Regions from separate parts of the Homo sapiens genome. Here regions 2, 3 and 4 are each linked to region 1. Evidence: promoter capture Hi-C in human tissues and cell types (Jung and others, 2019). All regions are on one chromosome and are shown on one strand. Each heading gives the region's core, a stretch centred on a gene start or on the middle of the fragment in contact. The rest is flanking DNA. Distances are from core to core; before and after follow the strand shown.

Evidence for each region. Contacts are between HindIII fragments. The study calls those that stand out against the background at their distance.
Region 2: a fragment that was not itself captured here is called in contact with the fragment with the promoter of GMIP in region 1 in 1 of the 25 tissues and cell types used here (heart left ventricle).
Region 3: a contact is called between the fragment with the promoter of ZNF93 here and the fragment with the promoter of GMIP in region 1, in 5 of the 25 tissues and cell types used here (adrenal gland, bladder, heart left ventricle and 2 more).
Region 4: a fragment that was not itself captured here is called in contact with the fragment with the promoter of GMIP in region 1 in 1 of the 25 tissues and cell types used here (spleen).

What each region holds. Positions count from the first base shown.
Region 1 is chr19:19,640,509-19,646,002 of GRCh38, forward strand. GMIP (GEM interacting protein) reads right to left here and starts at 3,149. Exons shown (of 21, transcript NM_016573.4): 1 at 3,003-3,149; 2 at 2,027-2,111; 3 at 1,468-1,543; 4 at 1,302-1,359; 5 at 1-63. The coding sequence starts at 3,021. It overlaps ATP13A1 (ATPase 13A1), which reads right to left. Exons shown (of 26, transcript NM_020410.3): 24 at 5,366-5,477; 25 at 5,139-5,282; 26 at 4,690-5,024. The coding sequence ends at 4,914. RefSeq lists enhancers at 2,026-2,981, 2,203-2,362 and a silencer at 2,993-3,242. The HindIII fragment of the contact is 23,421 bases long and covers 1,042-5,494 here.
Region 2 is chr19:20,070,436-20,075,507 of GRCh38, forward strand. No RefSeq gene overlaps it. Among named protein-coding and RNA genes, the nearest start is that of ZNF90, 5.0 kb to the right of the region's middle. The HindIII fragment of the contact is 3,905 bases long and covers 268-4,172 here.
Region 3 is chr19:19,896,918-19,902,439 of GRCh38, forward strand. ZNF93 (zinc finger protein 93) reads left to right here and starts at 4,029. Exons shown (of 4, transcript NM_031218.4): 1 at 4,029-4,174. The coding sequence starts at 4,172. RefSeq lists enhancers at 3,999-4,598, 4,133-4,682, 5,231-5,522. The HindIII fragment of the contact is 8,115 bases long and covers 1-5,522 here.
Region 4 is chr19:19,949,466-19,954,795 of GRCh38, forward strand. It overlaps the pseudogene BNIP3P12. Among named protein-coding and RNA genes, the nearest start is that of ZNF93, 51 kb to the left of the region's middle. The HindIII fragment of the contact is 3,264 bases long and covers 1,431-4,694 here.

The DNA.
Region 1 (5,494 bases), core at 1,899-4,398:
CATATTCCAGGGCTGCGTCCACACCCCCCTTTGTCCGAATGAGCCGCAAGTCCAGTTCCTCCCCTGGGGAAGATGGATGGACCTCTGACCTTTGCACCCTAGTCTGCTATGGATGTCTTCCCTAAGCCCCCAGACCAGCCCAGTGGCACCTGTCCTACAGCCTCACAGCTCCCCAAACACTACTTTGGGATCACTTGTCCTGGTTGCAATTTTACAGATTCACTGTTTTTTGTTTTTTATTTTTTATTATTTTATTATTTATTTATTTATTTTTGAGACTGTGTTTCGCTCTTGTTGCCCAGGCTAGAGTGCAATGGCGCGATTTTGGCTCACCAAAACCTCTGCCTCCCGGGTTCAAGCGATTCTCCTGCCTCAGCCTCCTGAGTAGCTGGGATTACAGGCATGCGCCACCATGCCCGGCTAATTTTTTGTATTTTTAGTAGAGACGAGGTTTCTCTATGTTGGTCAGGCTGGTCTCGAACTCCCAATCTCAGGTGATCTGCCCGCCTCGGCCTCCCAAAGTGCTGGGATTACAGGCATGAGCCACCGTGCCCGGCCTGTGTTTGATGGGTTTTTTTATTTTTATTTTTGAGGCGGAGTCTCGCTCTGTCGCTCAGGCTGGAGTGCAATGGCCCTATTTTGCCTCACTGCAAGCTCCGCCTCCTGGGTTCCCGCCATTCTCCTGCCTCAGCCTCCCGAGTATCTGGGACTACAGGCACTCGCCACTGCGCCCGGCTAAATTTTTTTGTATTTTTAGTAGAGATGGGGTTTCACCATGTTAGCCAGGATGGTCTCGATCTCCTGACCTCGTGGTCCACCCGCCTCAGCCTCCAAAGTGCTGGGATTACAGGCGTGAGCCACTGCGTCCGGCCTTGTGTTTGATTTTTTTGGACATGGTCTTGCTCTGTCATCCAGGCTGGAGTGCAGTGGCACAATCGTATCTCACTGCAGCCTCAAAGTCCTGGGCTTAATCAGTCCTCCAGCCTCAGCTTCCAAAGTAGCTGGGACTACAGGCACACACCACCACACCCAGCTAATTAAAAAAATATTTTTTCTTTTGGTAGGGATGGTGTCTTACTGTTGCCCAGCATGGTCACGAATTCCTGGCTTCAAGTGATCCTCCTACCTCAGCCTCCACCCTGCCTGGGGTCTCCCTGAGGGCTGGGACTGAGATCTGTTGTGTGTACTGCCATATTCCCAAAACCTAAACGATGCCTTGCATGGAACAGGGGATCAGTGGTGATTTGTTGAAGGAAAGACTCCTGTCTGTCCCCACTGTCCTGGCCTCCAGACCCCCCTACCTGTGAGGGGTACAGGACCCTCTGGGGAGGGGCCGCTCCAACAGCTGGCTTCGTTGGTCTGTGCGGGAGGGAGACAGTATTCAGAAGCAAACAGGGCAGGGGCCTGGCCTTCCTAAGGCCCCCTCTGCTTGAGGTCTTCCTCCCTGTTCCCCTACTCCCCACTCACAACAGTGGCTGTAGGGGTCTTGTCAGGTTCTGGGTCTTCTGAGAGTAGAGGGTCTCCAGCCAGCATCTCAAGGGTCCTGGGGGATAAAGGTGTGTCAGGATGCCACCTTACACCCAGTCTGTCCTGCCAAGGGGTGCTGGGGACCTTAGGGTTGTTTGTGGCAAACATCACCTCTGTGGCATCTCTTGTGTCTGGGAGGTCTGAAGAATGGTGTTTTGGGGGAATCAGGTGAGTTTTTTTTAAATAGGACTTGAAAAAGCATCTGAAGGGCCCCAGATAACTTTGAGGTTCATAGAGTGGGATTATAGGGATCGCAAATATTTTAAGGGGTTACAAGGATATGTAGGGGTTCTAGGACCACTTTGGGGATTTCCAGTCTATTTAGGGGGACACTTTTAGGATACCGAGGCATTTTGGAGGGTCCCATCCTAGACTTCTCTGGTTATTAGGTATGTAGGTCCAGATGTTACAGGTTCCAAATGGGACTGCAAGGCACCTAAATGGTTAGGGGCTTGGGGCATCTTGGCAGGATTTGGGGGTGATCCAGGCTCAGACTCACACGTTCCCCAGTGAGATTTCGAGGTTGTCCAGGCTCCGGAAGATGTCACTGTACCTCTTCCTGCCCTCAGGACCTGGGGGGAGTCCTAGGGGAGGGGAGTGTAATACATGGGCTAACCACTGCCTCCCTCCACCCACGGCACCTCAACCAGTCTCATTTGGAGGGGGTGGAAGAGAAAGGGAAGAGTGAGAGAGAGAAAGAGAGGGCTGGGGGGGGCTTGGTTGGGGCCAACTCGAGGCAGGCAGATGGACTCACACACCACCAGAGACCAGAGACAGCTGCTCGGGGAACAGAGACACCCACTCCCTGGGTCTGCCTGCACCCAGAAGCAAACCAACAAAACAGATGCCCCAGATGCAACCAGGCTGTCCCGAGAAGAAAGCCGGTCTGACAATGGAACCACGGGCTAGACAGATGGAAATACACAAGGGACAGCCAGGCAGAGCCTGGGGCAGAAACACACATGGAGAGACTGAAGCCGTGAGGGACATAAAGACCGAATGACACTCCACATACACAACACAGACACAAAGACGGCCGGAAACACCAAGTCGGACCCCGCCACATTTCTACTGCTGCCCCCCTGCCCCCTCTCCTAAGGGGCCTAGACCAGCACTGCCGACTCCCCAGGGCTACAGAGGGGCCCTGTGGGGATCCTACCGCGTTGCCCTCTCCCTCAGCAGTCGTGGCACCCTGCCCCCATCACAAAAATCAGAAGCAGAAGCAGTCACTTCCCCTTCCTGGGCCCCCTCCCCCAGGCGTCTGGGGTGAGGGATCAAAAGGGGGAGGGGGAGTGAAGGGCTGGGGTCCTGAACCCATCCGGGCACAGGGCTCCCCACAATGGAGGATCCCTGGGTCCTTCCCATTCAGGAACTCCTCTCCTGGCTCTCAGGACGGAGCGGGACAAGTGTGTGCCCTCAATGTAGGAAGCAGGGGATGGTCGGGGGAGGCCCCTCCCGGATCCCCGACCCCCTACCCGGCTCTGCTGCGTCCATATCTGGGCCCGGGGATCGCTCTGCAGGGACCGGGATGGGGATGGGGTCGCGCGCCGGCGGGGCCGAGCCCCGATTTCCTGCCGCCGCAGCCGCCGCCGCCGCCTCGGTTCCGCGTCGCCCTGCCCAGCGGAGGCCACGCCCCCGCATCAGACCACGCCCCCGTAGCCCGGAAGCCTTGATAGTGCCCTTCTCTACCTGAGCCGCTTGAAACTGGGTCGGGCCAGGGCCCCCTGAGCGACCACTCGAGGCTGCAGTGCCCCTGACCTGGGCATCCTAAGACTTCATCTGGGCCATAGGTTCCCTCTCAGATCTTTGTGCTACCCCAAATCCCACGGAGCCCCAGCCCCCTCCTCCCTGAATGGTTGCAGAGTCCACCTGTCCCGGGGGGCCTCTCCCAGGAGCTCCCACAACCCGCGACCCTGGTGATCCCCTTGCCCAGGTTGTCTCTCGGAGCCCTGAAACCACCTGGGCCTCGCTGGAGCCATGGCGCCCCCTGGTGGAGGCCTGATATTCTGTCCGATTCCAACCAAAATTCTAATACTCGGGCTGGAGAACCCCTGGCCTGGGGGACGCCCCTTCCGTGACCCTCAAAGCTGGATCAGGCTCAAGGCCCCAATTACAGCACACCAGGGAGCAGCCCTTTTAGGTAGGGAGTGGAGGTTTGTCCAAAAGCACCAGCTCTGGGGTTGCCACAAGCCGCCTGTTATAAAAATGCTCCCACCCCCAGCACAGTGGAATTTTGGGGCTGGAAATAGACTTTAAAGTATGTTTATAACTTTGTGTCCAAAGGCTTTGGCTGTTAAGGAGGCAAGGATTCTCTGACTGGCTCCGTGCTGCCTACTCTGCAGTTCTTGAGTTGTGATGAGTGAGTCCATTGAAAGGAATAACACTATCAACCTAAGAGCCAAGCCAGGTTTCCAGGTCACATCCTGGCTGATGCTCAGCCAGAGCTCCCTGACTGTGACATGAGATGGTAGAGCAGCGCAGGCCCCCAAAGAGCATGACAGAGTCAGTACTTGTTTGTTTTTCTTTTGAGTTGGAGTCTCGCTCTGTTGCCCAGGCTGGAGTGCAGTGGCGTTATCTCGGCTCACTGCAAGCTCCACCTCCTGGGTTCACGCCATTCTCCTGCCTCAGCCTCCCGAGTAACTGGGACTACAGGCACTCGCCACCATGCCTGGCTAATTTTTTGTATTTTTAGTAGAGATGGGGTTTCACTGTGTTAGCCAGGATGGTCTCGATCTCCTGACCTTGTGATGGGCCCGCCTTGGCCTCCCAAAGTGCTGGGATTACAGGCTTGAGCCACCGGACAGAGTCAATACTTGTAATGATGCAGATCATATTCCTCAAGTCTCAGACACCACCCGAGAGAAAGGCATGCTGTTATGTATTATGGGAAAGAAAAAAATATCACACATCCTAAGGCTTCTCTCAGCACCTGAGTTGTTAAAATGTGAAAGAGACCTCAGAAATATGGGGGTGCTTGTTAAACTAGAAAATATGCACTGAATTCTCTGGGCAGGGACAAGTCCATGTTCAAGTGCTGAAAGTGCCAGAGGGTTTCACCAACATCACACGCCTGTGGGGAGGGTGCTGGGACCTTCCTCAGTGACCCTCTGTCCCCGAGCCCCCAGCAAACACCGTGTGGCACAGACGAGGTGGAGGCAGGGCTTTTTAAAATCTCAGATGCTGCTTTATTTACCAAAGGTGCTGGCTTGGGGCTGGTTCTGCTGGCCAAGCCAGCGGATGGCTGTGGGGGTCCCAGCTCAGTCTTCCAAGGGCGAGACTGTACAGCCTTGCTGTGGGGGGTTGGGGGCAGGGTTCCCTCCCGGGGCCCTGTTGGGGTTCCCGCCCAGCGGCAGCCAGGGTGGGCAGTGGGTACCAGCACTGCCATCTCAGGAAGGCACTTTCAGCTTCGGGGTCCCCAGGAAGAACTGCAGGACGCGGTCGGCCAGGAGCGCCAGGCAGAAGTCCAGGAGCAGGACCTGGGCAATGACCAGCTTGAACTGTCGGGGCAGGGAGGGATGGTGAGCTGGAGACCTGCAGCCCAGCTCAGGGTCACTGCCATAGGAGGGACCCATCAAGCTGAGCCCCAGGGTCACCTCCACAGGGCCACTGACCTCCACAGGGATGTCCACGAGGCCAAACTGGCTGTTGAAGTCGGGCGAGGAGCCGAGGAGCAGGCCAATGATGGCCAGGAGTGAAACTGCCAGACTCCACACCAGGGGCTTGTTCTCGGGCAGGCTCTCCATGAAGGGCGGGCCCTGTGGGGATGAGGGACAGATGGCTTCATGGGGTGGGGCTGGGTGGGCAGACAGTGAATGTTTGGGCAGGGCCCAGGCCTTACTTTGTAATTGATGGCGAAGGTGGCCATCTGCATGGCCATGGCCATGATGTAGACGGTGCTGTTGACCAGGCTTGGCTCAAACTCCTTGTACAAGTCCACGAACTGCTCCTGCCTGCAAGGACACATGGG
Region 2 (5,072 bases), core at 970-3,469, 430 kb after region 1:
ATAGGCCACAAAACAAGTCTCAATACATTTAAGACAATCAAAATTATATCAACTACTCTCTCAGACAACAATGGAATAAAAGTGAAAATCAACTTCAAATGCACCCTCACAACCATGCAAATACACGGAAATTAAATGAAAAATAAAATTTAGGATCAACCTGTTTCTGAATTTTTTTGTATGAAATCAAGATGGAAATTTAAAAATTAATTGAGCTGAATGATAATAATGACACAATCTATCAAAATGTCTGGGATACACCAAAAGTGGCGTTAAAAGGAAAGTTCATAGCATCAAGTGCCTACATCAAAAAGTCTGAAAGAGCATAAGTAGACAATCTAAAATAACACTTCAAGGAACTAGAGAAACAAGAACAAGCCAAACCCAAACCCAGCATAAGAAAAGAAATAACAAATATCAGAGCAGAACCCTAGGGGGAGGGGTGGCTGCAGTCTCTGTGGACAAGCAGACTTAGCCTTTCCTCCTGCTAGTTCTGAGCATTTCCAGCAGCTCAGATGAGTGTATTTGCCCCCAGCAAAACACTCCTCCTCCACCAAACGACAGTCAAAGTGCTTCATTAAAAGGGTTCTTCTCCCCATGCACTGGATGAGACCCCTCAACAGGGGTTGTCAGGCACCCTATACAGGAGTGATCCTACTGGCTTCAGGTTGGTGCCTCTTGAGGTCAGAGATCCCAGAGGAAGGTGCAGACACTCTTCTTTACTGCTCTGCAGCCTCCTTGAGTGACCTCTCCAGGCACTGGAGTGAACCAGATGAATAGGGCCTGAGGTGAACCCCTAGCAAGGTGCAGCAACCCTACAGAAGAGGGACCTGACCACTGAATGAAAAACAAACAAACAGAAAGCAGCAACAACAGCATCAACAAGAAAAAAATATACCCAGAAAAATCCCACCCAAGGCTGCACATGGTGGCTCACACCATAATCCAAATACTTTGGGAGGTTGAGGCGGGCAGAGCACTTGAGGTCAAGAGTTTGAGACCAGCCTGGCCAACGTGGTGAAACCTGGTCTCTACTAAAAAAAATACAAAAATTAGCCAGGCGTGGTGGTGCACGCCTGTTGTCCCAGCTACTTGGGAGTCTGAGACATGAGAATCACTTGAACCTTGGAGGCGGAAGTTGCAGGGAGCCAAGATCCTGCCACTGCACTCCAGCCTGGGTGACAGAGCAAGACTCTGTCTCAAACAAAACAAAACAAAACAAAAAAATCCAAGGGTCAGCAGCCTCAAAGATCAAAACTAGACAAACTCATGAAGATGAGAAAGAATCAACAAAAAAACATTGAGAGGCTAGAGTGCCTCTTCTCCAAATGATCAAAATGTTTCTTCAGCAAGGGTACAGAACTGGACAGAGGATGAGATGCAGGAATTGACAGAAGTAGGCTTCAGAAGATGGGTAATAAAAAAACTCTGCTGAGCCAAAGGAACATGTTCTAACCCAATATAAAGAAGCTAAGAACCTTGATAAAAGGTTAGAGGAGCCGGGCGCGGTGGCTCACGCCTGTAATCCCAGCACTCCGGGAGGCCGAGGCGGGCGGATCACGAGGTCAGGAGATGGAGACCATCCTGGCTAACAAGGTGAAACCCCGTCACTACTAAAAAATACAAAAAAAATTAGCCAGGCATGGTGGCGGGAGCCTGTAGTCCCAGCTACTCGGGAGGCAGAGGCAGGAGAATGGCGTGAACCCGGGAGGCGGAGCTTGCAGTGAGCTGAGATCACGCCACTGCACTCCAGACTGGGCGAAAGAGCAAGACTCCGTCTCAAAAAAAAAAAAAAAAAAAAAGGTTAGAGGAACTGCTAACTATAATAACAAGTTTGGAGAGGAACATAAATGATCTGATGGAGCTGAAAAACACAGCACGAGAACTTCATGAAGCATACAAAAGTATCAGTAGCCGAACTGACCAAGCAGAAGAAAGAATATCAGTATTTGAAGACCACCTTGTCAAAATAAGGCATGCAGACAAGATTAAAGAAAAAAGAATAAAAAGGAACAAAGAAAGCCTCTGACAAATATGGTGTTCTGTGAAGGAAACACATGAGGGTAGAAGAAAAGACACCTACACAATACCTTTAAGGGTAAACAAGCTTTATCCCACATAAATGGCAATGCAGATATAAGTAAATTTTTTTTTTTTTTTTGAGACGGAGTCTCACTCTGTCACCCAGGCTGGAGTGCAGTGGCGCGATCTCGGCTCACTGCAAGCTCCACCTCCCGGGTTCACGCCATTCTCCTGCCTCAACGTTCTGAGTAGCTGGGACCACAGGCACGTGCCACCATGCCCGGCTGATTTTTTGTATTTTTAGTAGAGACGGGGTTTCACCGTGGTCTCGATCTCCTGACCTCCTGATCCGACCGCGTTGGCCTCCCAAAGTGCTGGGATTACAAGCGTGAGCCACCGCGCCCGGCCAAGTAAATTGATATAAGAAAATTGCAATGGAAAGGGGAGAAGGAAAAAGATATATATATATACACACACACACACATAAATATATATATATACACACATATAAATATATATATACATACACACATAAATATATGTACATATATATACACTCACCAGACTATGGAGGATTCATCGCCACACCGGAATGCAACAACCTGGGCTCCAGAGTCAGCCACCCATCCATGCAAGGACAAGGAGAGGTCTCTTTAAGCTTTAGTGCGTTCTGGGGCTCTAGGTCATTTTGTAACAAGTTGTTTGGCATGAGGCACAGTGGAGGGCCCTTGAGACTGGGCTCAAGGAACACAAAAAGTTAACTTGTTTTTGCAATTGGCTATTGTTTTTCAATAACAATATAAAGGAATAGATTGAAATCGAGATTTCTCTGAAACAACTCTAGATGAATGCATCAAGGGGCTCGCAGAACCTATTCTCAGGCTTGGTGACCATCGTTTGTGTCCACATTCAATTCAATTCAAATTTAACTTTTTCTCCACCTTTGGCCTCAATTGGATACTCAATTGTAGGAAAATACCCTTACAGATACATAGGGAAGGCATAGTCGATATAGATTACAGATACAGGGTAAGGACAGGAGAATTAAAAGCACAATTAATAAAAACCACACCCAGCATGGCTTTCTAAGGAGAGTCATATTGTGAGAATTGCCAGGGATATACACACCACATTTAGCATGCAATATGGCACAAATCCCTCCTTGGGCTGCGGTAAGCATATCTAATGCCATTTGATTTTGCAACACAACAGTACTCAGCTGAGCAAATTTATCTGGTAACAACATAAGTCTAGTGCTAATATCATTAAGAGCTTTTTCTACATATAACCTTAATATTTTAGTTTGTTGCTGAAGCAGGATTGTACCAGTGGCAGGGGAGAATACTGTGATAGGGTACTGCCACCAGGGAGGCCAGGGAGGCTGGCACATTCATAACCAGTGATGTTTGTAAGTATCTAAATTACTTGGGAGAGGAATATTAACCCGGATGGTGAATGGAATTAATGGCTATCCCCAAGTTCATCTCCCTGTCCAGTGTGGGGACAGGTATCACCACTCATAGGATCTGCATACCCAGAGGGCTCCCCCAGGGGACAGCAATGGAGCTACTGTAATCACAGTGTACTCATGTATTATTAAAGTAGGAAAGAGATTGTGGTTCACTGGGGGCAATGTTGATTTGGAGTATGTGTTGACAATTGTCTGGAGAAACCCCAGAGTAATATTAGAGGAACCTTTTAAGGCCTCCAGACTAAGCGGGGGCTATAGGGAATCCAGGCACCAGCACAGCTGGTTTCCAAAATATACCATTCCAGGAATATTGGGCAGGATACCAAGGCTTTTGATGAAAGGAGAATGTGGAGTTCACCTTTTGTCTGACTTGGGCAAAGATAGATTGCTTAGTGTGGTCAAAGGAAGTACAGGTTGGACTACAAGTGTTGTTGTGACCCCGTTGGTAACTACATAGCCATTCAGAAATGTTGTCAGGATGATTCTCCAAGGTAGCCCATTCCTGGCGGCCTTTGGCAACTCGACGTATAGAAAACATTGTCTGTGATTGGCTTCTATTGCAGCGGTGGCTACCCAGTTCATGAATTTATTCTTGGCCTCAGACACAAAGACACAGGTGCTGACCATTAGTAGATAGATTATTCCCTGTAATAACAAAAAAGGATAGGAACATCATATTGTTTTTCATCTTTAGGAAATTGTACTATGCCTTCATTTTCTGTTTTCACAGCTACAAGGTCACCAGACTTAGGGGTGGGATCTGATGGATGCTGTACCCATATATTGGCTCCAGGATTTAAGCTACATGAACCAGTGGATCTGAATCCCCGAGTTCTGTATGTAGCCTCTGTTGGGACAGAGATTTCCTCAGGGGTTAATTGTTGACAAGGTACCACTAATAATTGAGCAACCCACATTTGTGGTTTTATAGCAAAAGAATCTGGAGTGGTATTGTATAAAACAACCTTTAACTCTCCCCAGTAATCACCATCAATTATACCACCAAACACTATAATGCCTCTCATTGCAAGGCTTGAACACATTGTAATCCATTCATCCACATTCAAATTTGCATTTATGGTGGAAATTTTGGCCTGTCGATCTTCCTGCTGATTAAATAGTCTGTCAAGAAAAGCAGAGATGCATGAGCATCATCATGGAAAACAGATCCAGGAGTGGTGGCCCAAGCCTGTACTTCTACCAATTTGGGAGGCTGAGGTGGGTTGTTCACGAGGTCAGGAGATTGAGACCACCCTGGTGAACACAGTGAAACCCCGCCTCTACTAGAGAAGTACAAAAATTAGCTGGGCGTGGCGGTGCATGCCTGTAATCCCAGCTACTCGGGAGGCTGAGGCAGGAGAATCACTTGAACCTGGGAGGCAGAGGTTGCAGTGAGCTGAGACTCAGCCACTGCACTCAAGCCTGGTGACCCGAGACTGAGCCACTGTACTCCAGCCTGGTGACAGAGCTAGACTCCGTGTCAAAAAAAATAAATTAATTAATACAGGAAAACAATGATAATGGTAGTGTGTACCAGAATTCATGTATCTTCCCAGTATTGTTTTCCCCATACCTCTTT
Region 3 (5,522 bases), core at 2,779-5,278, 260 kb after region 1:
CCCTCGACTACTTGCCAGCAGCTGAATGAGGGGTCTGCAGGAAATTTAACCTTACTAATTGCTGCCTACACATAGATAATCAAGGGCCAGTTGTTGAAGACATAGTTAGAGATATGACAAAACTGGCACACGTGCCCATGCAAGTGTGGCATGGATTTGATCCTGGGGCCATGTTTAGAAAATGGTTCCCAGCGCTAAGAGGATTTAAAACTCTTATAATAAAAGTTATAATAGTAATAGGAATCTGCTTACTGCTCCCTTGTTTGCTACCTGTACTTCTTCAGATGATAAAAAGCTTCATTGTTACCTTGGTTCACCAAAATGCTTCAGCACAAGTGTAATATATGAATCACTATCGATCTGTCTTGCAAGAAAACATAGGTAGTAAAAATAAAAGTGAGAACTCCCACTATTGAGAGTCTCAAAGTGGGGGAATAAGGGAGGAGACCACCCCTCATATTGTCTTATGCCCAATTTCTGCTTCCAAAGAAAGAAAAAGTAAAAACTAAAAGGCAGAAATGAAATCCACAAGCAGACAGCCCAGCGCCACACCCTGGGCCTGGTAGTTAAAGATCAACCCCTGACCTAATCGGTTATGTTATCTACAGATTACAGACATTGTATAGAAATGCACTGTGAAAATCCCTATCCTGTTTTGTTCTAATCTAACTACCGGTGCATGCAGCCCCCAGTCATGTACCCCCTGCTTGCTCAATCAATCATGACCCTCTCACACACATCCCCTTAGAGTTGTGAACCTTTAAAAGGGACAGGAATTGCTCACTTGGGGAGCTCAGCTCTTGAGACAGGAGTCTTGCCAATGCCCCTGGCTGAATAAACCCCTTCCTTCTTTAACTCGGTGTCTGAGGAGTTTTGTCTGTGGCTCGTCCTGCTACACCCTCTCCAGAATCATGGGCCATAGTTCCAGGGGAGAACCCTTCCAAACTAAAGCTAAGAAAATTTACCTATCTTCCATCTGTTCTGTTACTCCTTCTCCTTTTCCCCTTCTATTGCTAATCCTCTCGTTATTAATGTAACTAGGTTGGGCTCACCCCAAACTATTTCCTTTAGTGCTTGCCTCATTATGCCCTGTGAAAATCTCCAGAGTCAAAAACAGCTCTCAGCCTCAGAGAAATATCTCTGTCACTTTTGGACAAGAGGCTCCCCCTAACACGACTCCTGTTCTTTAACAAATGTAAAAAAAACAGGCCTGCCACAGCTGGAATGATGTTTTATAAACAATCGAATATCAGGGCTGGACCTCATCAACAAGTGGTTGTATGTCCTTAAAGCCATATATTTGCTTTGCTAAAGGAAACACTCCTTCCAATTGCCAGTTTAACCAATGTAATCTGGTGCAAATTTCTATTCTCACCCCCACTTCTATGGATCCTAACCCCACTTTGATTTGAGCTGCTTCTATGGCATAAGACCCAACTTGGCTGGCACAAATCTCATAGGGTCTTTCAAAATGCGTCTAATCATCCCTCATGCTCTTCACTCCCCTCTCTTCTAAGCTCTTTTCTAACCAGACTGTCATATCTTCTATGCCCAGTGATAAGACTAAAATAGATATTGTAAAAGTAACTAATTTAAGGCAAACTTTAACAATTAAAACAAGATACCAAGATACAAATGCCTGGTTAAAATGGATCAAATATTCTGTGCACACATTAAGCAAAAGCAATTGTTATGCTTGTGCACGCGGCCAGCCAGAGGCCCAAATTGTCCCTTTCCCACTCAGATGGTCTTCTAGTTGACCAGGCATAAACTGTATAGTAGCTCTTTTCCAAGACCCCACAGCCTAGGGTAATAAATCCTGCTGAGCTCTCTCTCTGCTATTTCTTAAAGTCCAACACCCTGTGGGTCAGGCCCCAAGAGCCATCCAGCCTCCATCTCCTAGCGTCAATTTTACCTCGTGTCTCTCACGACAAGGGGAAAACTTGGCATTTCTTGGAGACTTAATGGGATACAGTGAGCTTAAGCCTTTCCAAGATCTTACCAGTCAGTCTTCCCTTGTTCATCTTTGAGCAAATATATGGTGGTATTGTGGTGGACCCTTACTGGACACTCTGCCAAGTAACTGGAACGGCACTTGCACTGTTGTCCAGTTGGCTATCCCTTTCACTCTGGCATTTCATCGACTAGAAAAAGAAAAACCACAACACTGTAAAATAAGAGAAGCCCCTTATGTGTCTTTTGACTTTCAAGTTTATTTAGACACAACTGGAGTCCCACGGGTGGTACCTGATGAATTCAAAGCCCAAGATCAAATAGCTGCAGGATTTAAATCAATATTTCCACGGGTAACTATTAATAAAAATGTAGATTAGATAGATAAATCACATCTATTATAATCAATATTAGTTTATTAATTACACCAGAAATGCTGTCAAAGAAATAGCCAACCAATTAAGGCCTACTAGCCAGATAACTTAGAAAAACAAAATGGCCCTGGACATAATATTAGCTGAAAAAGGTGGAGTTTGTGTTATGATTAAAACTCAAATGTTGTACCTTCATCCCAAACAATACTGCCCCCAATAGGAACATAAGAAGGGCCTTACACGAACTTACCACTTTATCCAATGAATTAGCTAAAAATTCTGGGGTCAATAACACGTTTTCAGAATGGCTAGAGAGGTGGTTCAGTAAACGAAAAAAAGTCATAGCCTCAATTCTTACTTCTCTTATAGTTGTAATAGGTGTACTAATTCTTGTTGGGTGTTGTGTCATACCATGCATCTGTGGGCTAGTACAAAGACTTATAAAAACGACACTTACGAAAACCTCCCTTAGTTCTCCTCCACCTTATTCAGATAAACTTTTCCTTTTAAAAGATCAAGTCAAACAACAAAGTAAAGGTATGTTTAAAAAGTTTTAAAAAGCGTGTGGTCGCAGTGGCTCACGCCTGTAATCCCAGCACTTTGAGAGGCTGATGCGGGCGGATCACCCGAGGTCAGAAGTTAGAGACCAGCCTGACCAATATGAAGAAGCCCCATCTATACTAAAGACACAAAATTAGCTGGTCGTGGTGGCACATGCCTGTACTCCCAGCTACTCGGGAGGCTGAGGCAGGAGAATTGCTTGAACCTGGGAGGCAAATGTTGTAGTGAGCCAAAATCGTGCCATTGCACTCCAGCCTAGGCAGCAAGAGCAAAAACTCCATCTCAAAAAAAAAGGTTTTTTTTTAATTATAAAAATTAAAAGGGGGAAATTGTAAAATACAATAAAATTCCTCTTCAAAGGTTTAGTCTTAACTTTCTTGTTCTTTGTTCTCAAACTCAACTTGCTTGTTCTCCATGCCTCCTTGCCCCTAGTTACTGTAACAACCTTCCTTCCCAACAGCTCTAATCAATAATTCACATCTGTTCCCTTGATTACTCACTCTGCAGCCTTCCCACCCTTCAAAACCACACGTCCCACCACTGTGACTTATACATGCCCCTTCCCTTCCTTATTTGGAAAAATATTTACAAATAGCCAATCGGGTCAGTTTAGATTGTGGGGTCCGACCCTAGCCCATGGGGGAGTAACACAGAGGAAGAGACTTTACGTTAAAAATAAAAACCCCTTCCCTCCTTTGTTCAGGGTGCTCTTGCGATCGTGATTAATGCAAACAAAAACCTTTTGCAGAAGTAAATTGCCTTACTAAAAAAACTTTTGCCTGAGTACTGGTTTCACTTTGCGACACCAAACACTTTACTTCCAACGGTATTATTAATATGACAACGAAATACTTCTGTTCACCTTTTCAATACATTCAAAAAGAGAGAGTAAAAAAGAGAATGTTCCCATGCTCTGGGGTGGACGTGGCTCAGCTCAGAGAGGAAGCCCTGGCTGAAAAGGCTGCAGCTTAGGCTGTTACTCTTCTTCACTCAGCCCAGCATGTGATCACATCTTCTGTCACTCAGGTCCTGAGGGGGCGGGACCTTAAGAATTATCCAATCAGGGACGCTGGGCTGGAAACGTCCAATCAGGCAAGCAGCCGGACCGAACAGGGCGGCTTCTGGTTTGGCGGGTCCTTTGTCTCTCGGTGCAGCCGGAGCTCCAGGTCTCCTCTTCACTACTCTGTGTCCTGTGCTCCTACAGGCCCAGCCTCTGTGGCCCTGTGACCTGCAGGTATTGGGAGATCCACAGCTAAGACACCAGGACCCCTGGAAGCCTAGAAATGGTGAGAGTGCCGGTCCGACATCCCAAGCGACGGGGAGGGGCTGGTTGGAACCGGTGGAAAGTGACGGTGGCGGGACTCAGGTATCCCCTTAGTCAGCTCCACAATCTGCGCCGGAGTTCTTGCCCAGCTCGGCCTCGGTTCCCTTCAGCCATAAGATGGCGGCTGCGCTTATAGCGCAGCCCCCAGGCGTCCTGTCTCTTCACTGTGCGGTGACTGTGCCCTGGCTTGGAGCCCTCGCTGGGCAGCTGCGCACCCGCAGAGCCGCTTCTCTCCCAGATTGTGCAGAGACCACGGGAGAGTCGTCAGGGGAGAATCCTGACTCGGAGTGCGGGTTCACGAATGGGAAGAGCTTTAGTGGGTTGGGTTCACAGTTTCTCTTTTCTCCTATTAAAAATTTATGGGGCTGGGCAAGGTGGCTCACTCCTGTAATCGCAGCAGTTTGGGAGGCCGAGGCGGGCGGATCACTTGAGGAGTTGTTAGGGCAGCTAAGTTCCTCTTCAGAGACTCAACTTCCTGGTCATAAGTTGTAAAAATTGTAAATCAACCCTACCCCTTCTTTTTCCCCATTCTCCTTTTCTCAAAACATCGCGCGTTTACCCTATATGGAAAAAGTTTGTGTCTAGCCCAACCAGGATCAGCTTAGATTGTGCGGTGGGACCTCAGCCAATATGGGAAGGACACAAAAACCGGAACTGCGTTAGGGTTAAATCCCCTTCCTGGCCCAGCGCGGTGGCTGATGCCTGTAATCCCAGCACTTTGTGAGGCCGTGGCGGGTGGATCACAAGGTCAGGAGTTCTAGGCCAGCCTGGCCAACATAGTGAAACCCCGTCTCTACTAAAAATACAAAAATTAGCCGGGATTGGTGGCAGGCGTCTGTAATCCCAGCTACTTGGGAGGCTGACGCACGAGAATTGCTTGAACCTGGGAGGCGAGGTGCAGTGAGCCGAGAGCTTGCCATTGTACTCCAGCCTTGGTGACAAAGTGAGACTCCGTCTTAAAAAAAAAATAGACATCTTAAAATTTCCTTCCCTTATGTAAATACTGTGTTTGAGTAATTTCACGGATTTTTCAAACACTGAGTTTCAAAAACCAAGTGAATAACTCTGACATGACAAAGCTTGAGCCTAGTGACTCCAAGCTAAGGCTAATATTAAGCCTAAAACAGAAGGTTTTTTTTTTGGACAGAGTTTTGCGTTTTGCTCTTGTTGCCCAGGTGGAGTACAGTGGCGCAATCATGGCTCACTGAAATCTCCACCTCCTGGGTTCAAGCGATTCTCCTGCCTCAGCCTCTCAAGTAGCTGGGATTACAGGCATGCACCATCATGCTTGGCTGATTTTGTGTTTTTAG
Region 4 (5,330 bases), core at 1,813-4,312, 310 kb after region 1:
CAGAGCAAGTCCGAAATCACCCTTCTTCCTTAGCCCATTTGAGTTAATGTATGGACGCCCTTTCCTCTTACAAAACAGGCCTCCTCTCGACTCCCAGCTAGGAGAATATCTCCCAACCTTCTCCCTTATCCGTCATCTCCTCTGTGAATGATCAAGCCCTCCCAAAACCCCACAAAGGCCCCACTGACTGGACTCTCCTACCAGGAAAGTATGTCTTCCTAAAAACTCTTAACCCAACAAGGCTAAAACCAAGGTGGGAAGGCCCTTTTCAAATTATCCTTACAACCCCCACTGCAGCCAAACTCAGGACATGCCTCTTGGTACCATCTTTCCAGAGTAAAAAGGGCTCCTGCAGTGCCTACTGAACCACAGACTGTCCTCCACCAATCCTCCAGCACCCTCCTTTGTCCAACCAAACTCTGCCTGACGCCCATCCCTGAAGAAGGCCCACGAGCGGTAACTCTTTTACATATCACTTCTGCCCCTGCTACAGATGCCAAGGTCCTCGTGACAAGGAACAGCCTCACCCTACAGCATACCAAATATTAGAATCCCTCTCTTCTCTCCCCATTTCCACATGAGGAAAAGTCTTAACCCACCTATACCTTGCCCATCTGCAAGGAGAATTTGACCATCCATGGGACGCTATCAGCCACCTCATAGACCCCCTAGAAGAAGCCACCTCCCTGTATGGATCCTACCAGCTCCTCTCTCCAACAACAGATTCTGATTCTTCCTCAGATTCCTAATTCTTTTGACAGCCAGCCCCATGGCCTCTACCTCCTCAGGGTCCCTTCTCACTTCTACAAGTCTCGAATGATCTCTCAACCTCACTCACTTTTTGTTACTGTGCTCCAATTCAACATTTGCTTCCAGTTTCTGGACCTATTTTTGCCTTTCCTCTACTGCCTACTCAGCTATCCCAATTTCTTAGCCCTGAGACCATTTTCCCATTCACTTCTCTTACAACATCCAAAAGGGACCTGCCTTTGTAGACAGAGCCCTCACTCTCACTGGAAACTATCCCACTGCCCTCACTGACAGAGCTACCAAGCTCCTCTTCAATCTATATTGCCAACTATGATGACTCAAAACTCCCATACCCCACCATCCAAGGTCTCATAACTCTCCATACCACAAGACTTGGCCAAGCCCCCTTATGCATCACCTCTTCCAATGGACACGTACACGTAGGCACCCTCCTTCCCTCTGCCTGTAACTCAACCCGAACCATCTCTCACCCTTCCTCCCATATCTCACTCTGAGTGGATTATTCAGTCTCCCCTGAAGTCAACGGTCTCTTTACTCAGCCCTTCTGCATTTCCTCCCTCCCACCTCTCAAACATGGAAACCCCTTCCTTGGACAGGAGTGCTCAAAGGGGTTTCTGTCTCTTTCTCACTCTGGGTTGCTGAAGCTGAGCCAAGTCCCTCCAAGTGGGGAACCTACAAACTGCAACACCTACTCTCAATCCACCTGTCTGTTTGCATAAATACCTCAGGCATCTTCTTTCTCTGCGGGTCCACAACATACTTCTGTCTCCTTACTAACTGGACAGGCACTTGCGCCCTAGTCTGCCTTACTCCCAACATTAACATTGTCCTTTCAAACCAGGAACTCCCTGTTCCAGCTACAATACATACCCACTCAAAAAGAACAATACAGTTGATTCCCTATTCACAATAGCAAAGACATGGACAGGCCCTAAATGCCTATCAATGGATAAAGGAAACACGGTATGGTCAGACGCGGTGGCTCATGCCTGTAATCCCAGCACTCTGGGAGGCTGAGGCAGGTGGATTGCCTGAGCTTAGAAGTTTGAGACCAGCCTGGGCAACAGGGCAAAATCCTGTCTCCATGCAAAATACAAAAATAGAAATTGGCCAGGTGTGGTAAAGCACATGTGTAGTCCCCCCACACCAAGTACTTAGGAGGATGAGGTAGGAGACAATTGCTTGAGCCTGGGAGGTTGAGGCTAAAGTAAGCCAATATCATGCTATGACACTCTAGCCTGGGCCATAAGTGTGACCCTGTCTCCAAAAATAAAATAAAATAAAAGATTTAGTAAAAACAAAATATGGTACATAAACATCGTGGAATACTCTGTGGCCATTAAAAAAAGTGATCATGTCCTTTGCAAAAACATCAGTGAACCTGGAGACCACTATTCTTAGAAAACTAACGGAGAGCCTGGGCATGGTGGCTTGTGCCTGTAATCCCAGCGCTTTGGGAGGGAGGTGGGCAAATCACCTGCAGTCGGGAGTTTGAGACCAGCCTGACCAACATGGAAAAAGCCCATCACTACTAAAAATACAAAATTAGCAGGGCATGGTGGCATGCACCTCTAATCCCAGCTACTAGGGAGGCTGAGGCAGGAGAATCGCTTGAACCTGGGAGACGAAGGTTGCAGTGAGCCAAGATTGCACCATTGCACTCCAGTCTGGGCAAAAAGAGTAAAACTCCATCTCAAAAAACAAAACAAAAAACAACAAAAAAAGAGAAAACTAATACAGAAACAGAAAACCAAATGCATGTTATTATTTATAAGTAATAGCTAAATAATAAGAACACATGAACACAAAGAGAAGAACAACAGACACTGAGGCCTAGATGAGGGTGGAGGGTGGGAGGACTAAGAGGATGAGAAAACAGACCTGTTTGGTGCTACGGGTAGTACCTCAGTGACAAAATAATCTGCACACCAAACCCCCATGACATAATTTTAGCTGTAAAACAAAGACACATGTATATCCCGAACCAAAAATAAAAGCTAAAAGAAAAAATATCCCTGGATGGCAGAGTGCAATGTAGCTGAAAGGACTGATTTTCACTACAGATAGTGGCCCAGGTGGGGCTGTACTGATTTATTTCTGTGTGAATGCAGGCAGATGAGATCATGAACAGGTGGCCCAGAAGCTTAGGTTGGTGGAGAAAACAAGTTGCTGCTGCAGATTCAGTGTCTGAGGGTGGGGATATGCCAGAAGACTTGTAGACACTTGTGGGTTCTTGGCAAGAAACACTAGGATCAAAAATGCAGTGGTGAAGTTCCTGAGGGTGGTGCCTAGTCCTGGGAGGAGTGTGGACACATCAATGTCTAGTGTGTGTGTGTTTGTGAGTGGGTGGAAATCCTGTGGTGGCAGATGCAAGACAGGGGTGTCTGTTCTTAGAGGTCCTTTTCTCTAAGTTTTCAGTCTTCTGTCACCCTGGGAGAAGACCTGGAATCACAGGAAAATGGGCAGTGTGACAGCCTGTGTACAGGAGAGCAGAGCCTCCCATTTCCAGAAACCCAGAGTTTTACTCCAGGCCAGGCCTCCATAATATCTTTTTTTCTGGCACCAAATCTGTAGTTTGCTGAACATCAAACTATCCTCCAACACCAACTCATTGTCTAACATTTGAATTCTGACACCACCCAGAGTCAGCACAGACCCTGATTCAGGGCTCGGTCCCACAACACTGTCCTCACTGCAGATGCCAGCCACAAACCCCACAGGCCCATCTATGCTTCGGAGCCACTATTTAAAAACTGGGGACTCCCATCGCCTCCCTGAAGTTCAATAATTTGGTAGAGCTACTCGCAGAACTCAGGAAAACACTGTAGTTATGTTTACTGTTTTAATATATAAGATGCAGCCCAGGAAAAGCCAAGTGGAAGAAATGCATAGAACAAAGAAAAGAGATGGGGGAAGATGAAACACATAGATAATCCTGGAAAATATTTGTGATTAATAAAATTCTCCATCCTTTGTGTGCTCCAGGAACAGTTTATGGAAAGAAACACTCTTCCCATTATGACTTAGATAGTCCTCTGTTTTACCTATCACACAGCCAGACACACACTCTGCAGATTTTCTCCTTTTTCTCATTAGAAAAATCAGCTGAATTTGTCTTCAGTGATCAAAATTATTATTTTTTTTTAATGGAGTCTCGCTTTGTTGCCTAGGCTGGAGTACAGTGGCTTGATCTCGGCTCACTGCAATGGCTGCCTCCTGGGTTCAACCAATTCTCCTTCCTCAGCCTCCCGAGCATCTGGGATTACAGGTGCCCACTGTGACACCTGGCTAATTTTTGTGTTTTTAGTAGACACAAGGTTTCACCATATTGGCCAGGCTGGTCTCGAACTCCTGACCTCAGGTGATCCGCCTGCCTTGGCCTCCCAAAGTGCTGGGATTACAGGCATGAGCCACCTCACTTGGCCTAAAATAAAATATTTCTTAATCAAATTTAAGCTTATATCCCTCCCTTAGGCTCCTGAACTTTGAGCTACCCTCAGTCTGAGTCAACATACAACCCCATTTTATGTCCCTCCTAAGAGCATGCTGATTTCAGGGTAACACATTCTCTGATCTAAAATCTGACTTTTTCACCCTCCATTTGCCATTCCCCTCCCACCTACTTTCTAATCTTGTTTGCTCCTCCCTAGGAAAGAAAGCCCTTTTCAGCCTACATCTTTGCAAGCCACAAAGACCTTCCTTATAGTTAGTTGGTACTTCCTCCTGTTGCAATAATTTTTTGGAATTTTTTTTACATAAATCTAACATTTTTATTTTACACAGTCTAAAAAATGCCTCAAAACAGTAACAACTTCATCATCAGTAAGAACCTCCCAGTTTCCTTTCACCTTAATCTTAACTGCATCTGCCTGTGGGGCCCCAGCTTTCCAGGGCTCTGTAGCTTCTCTCAGAATAAAGGATCCTTCCATGGCTGGGGTGAGCAGGCTGGGACATCTGCAGTGGAGACTCCCCAGAAAAAAGTAACTGGGCCTTTAATAACCTTCTGTTGGCCGGGCTCGGTGGCTCATGCCTGTAATCACAGCACTTTGGGAGGTCGAGGTGGGCGGATCACCTAAGGTCGGGAGTTCGAGACCAGCCTGACCAACATGGACAAATCCCGTCTCTACTAAAAACACAAAATTAGCCGGGCGTGATGGTGCATGCCTGTAATTCCAGCTACTCCAGAGGTTGAAGTAGGAGAATTGCTTTAACCTGGGAGGCAGAGGCTGTGGTGAGCCAGATCACACCATTGCACTCCAGCCTGGGTGCACAGACACACACACACACACACACACACACACACACACACCAAAAACAAAAAACAAAACAAAACAAACAACCCTCTGTTGCAGGCTTAATATTAGCCTTAGCTTGGAATCACTAGGTTCAAGCTTTAATTTCCATGTCAGAGTTATTCACTTTGTTTTTGAAAGTAAGTGTTTGAAAATTCCAGTGAAATTACTCAAACACAGTGTTTATATAAGGGAAGGAAATTTTAAGATGCTTACTTTTTTTTTTTTTTTGAGATGGAGTCTTGCTCTGTTGACTGGGCTGAAGTG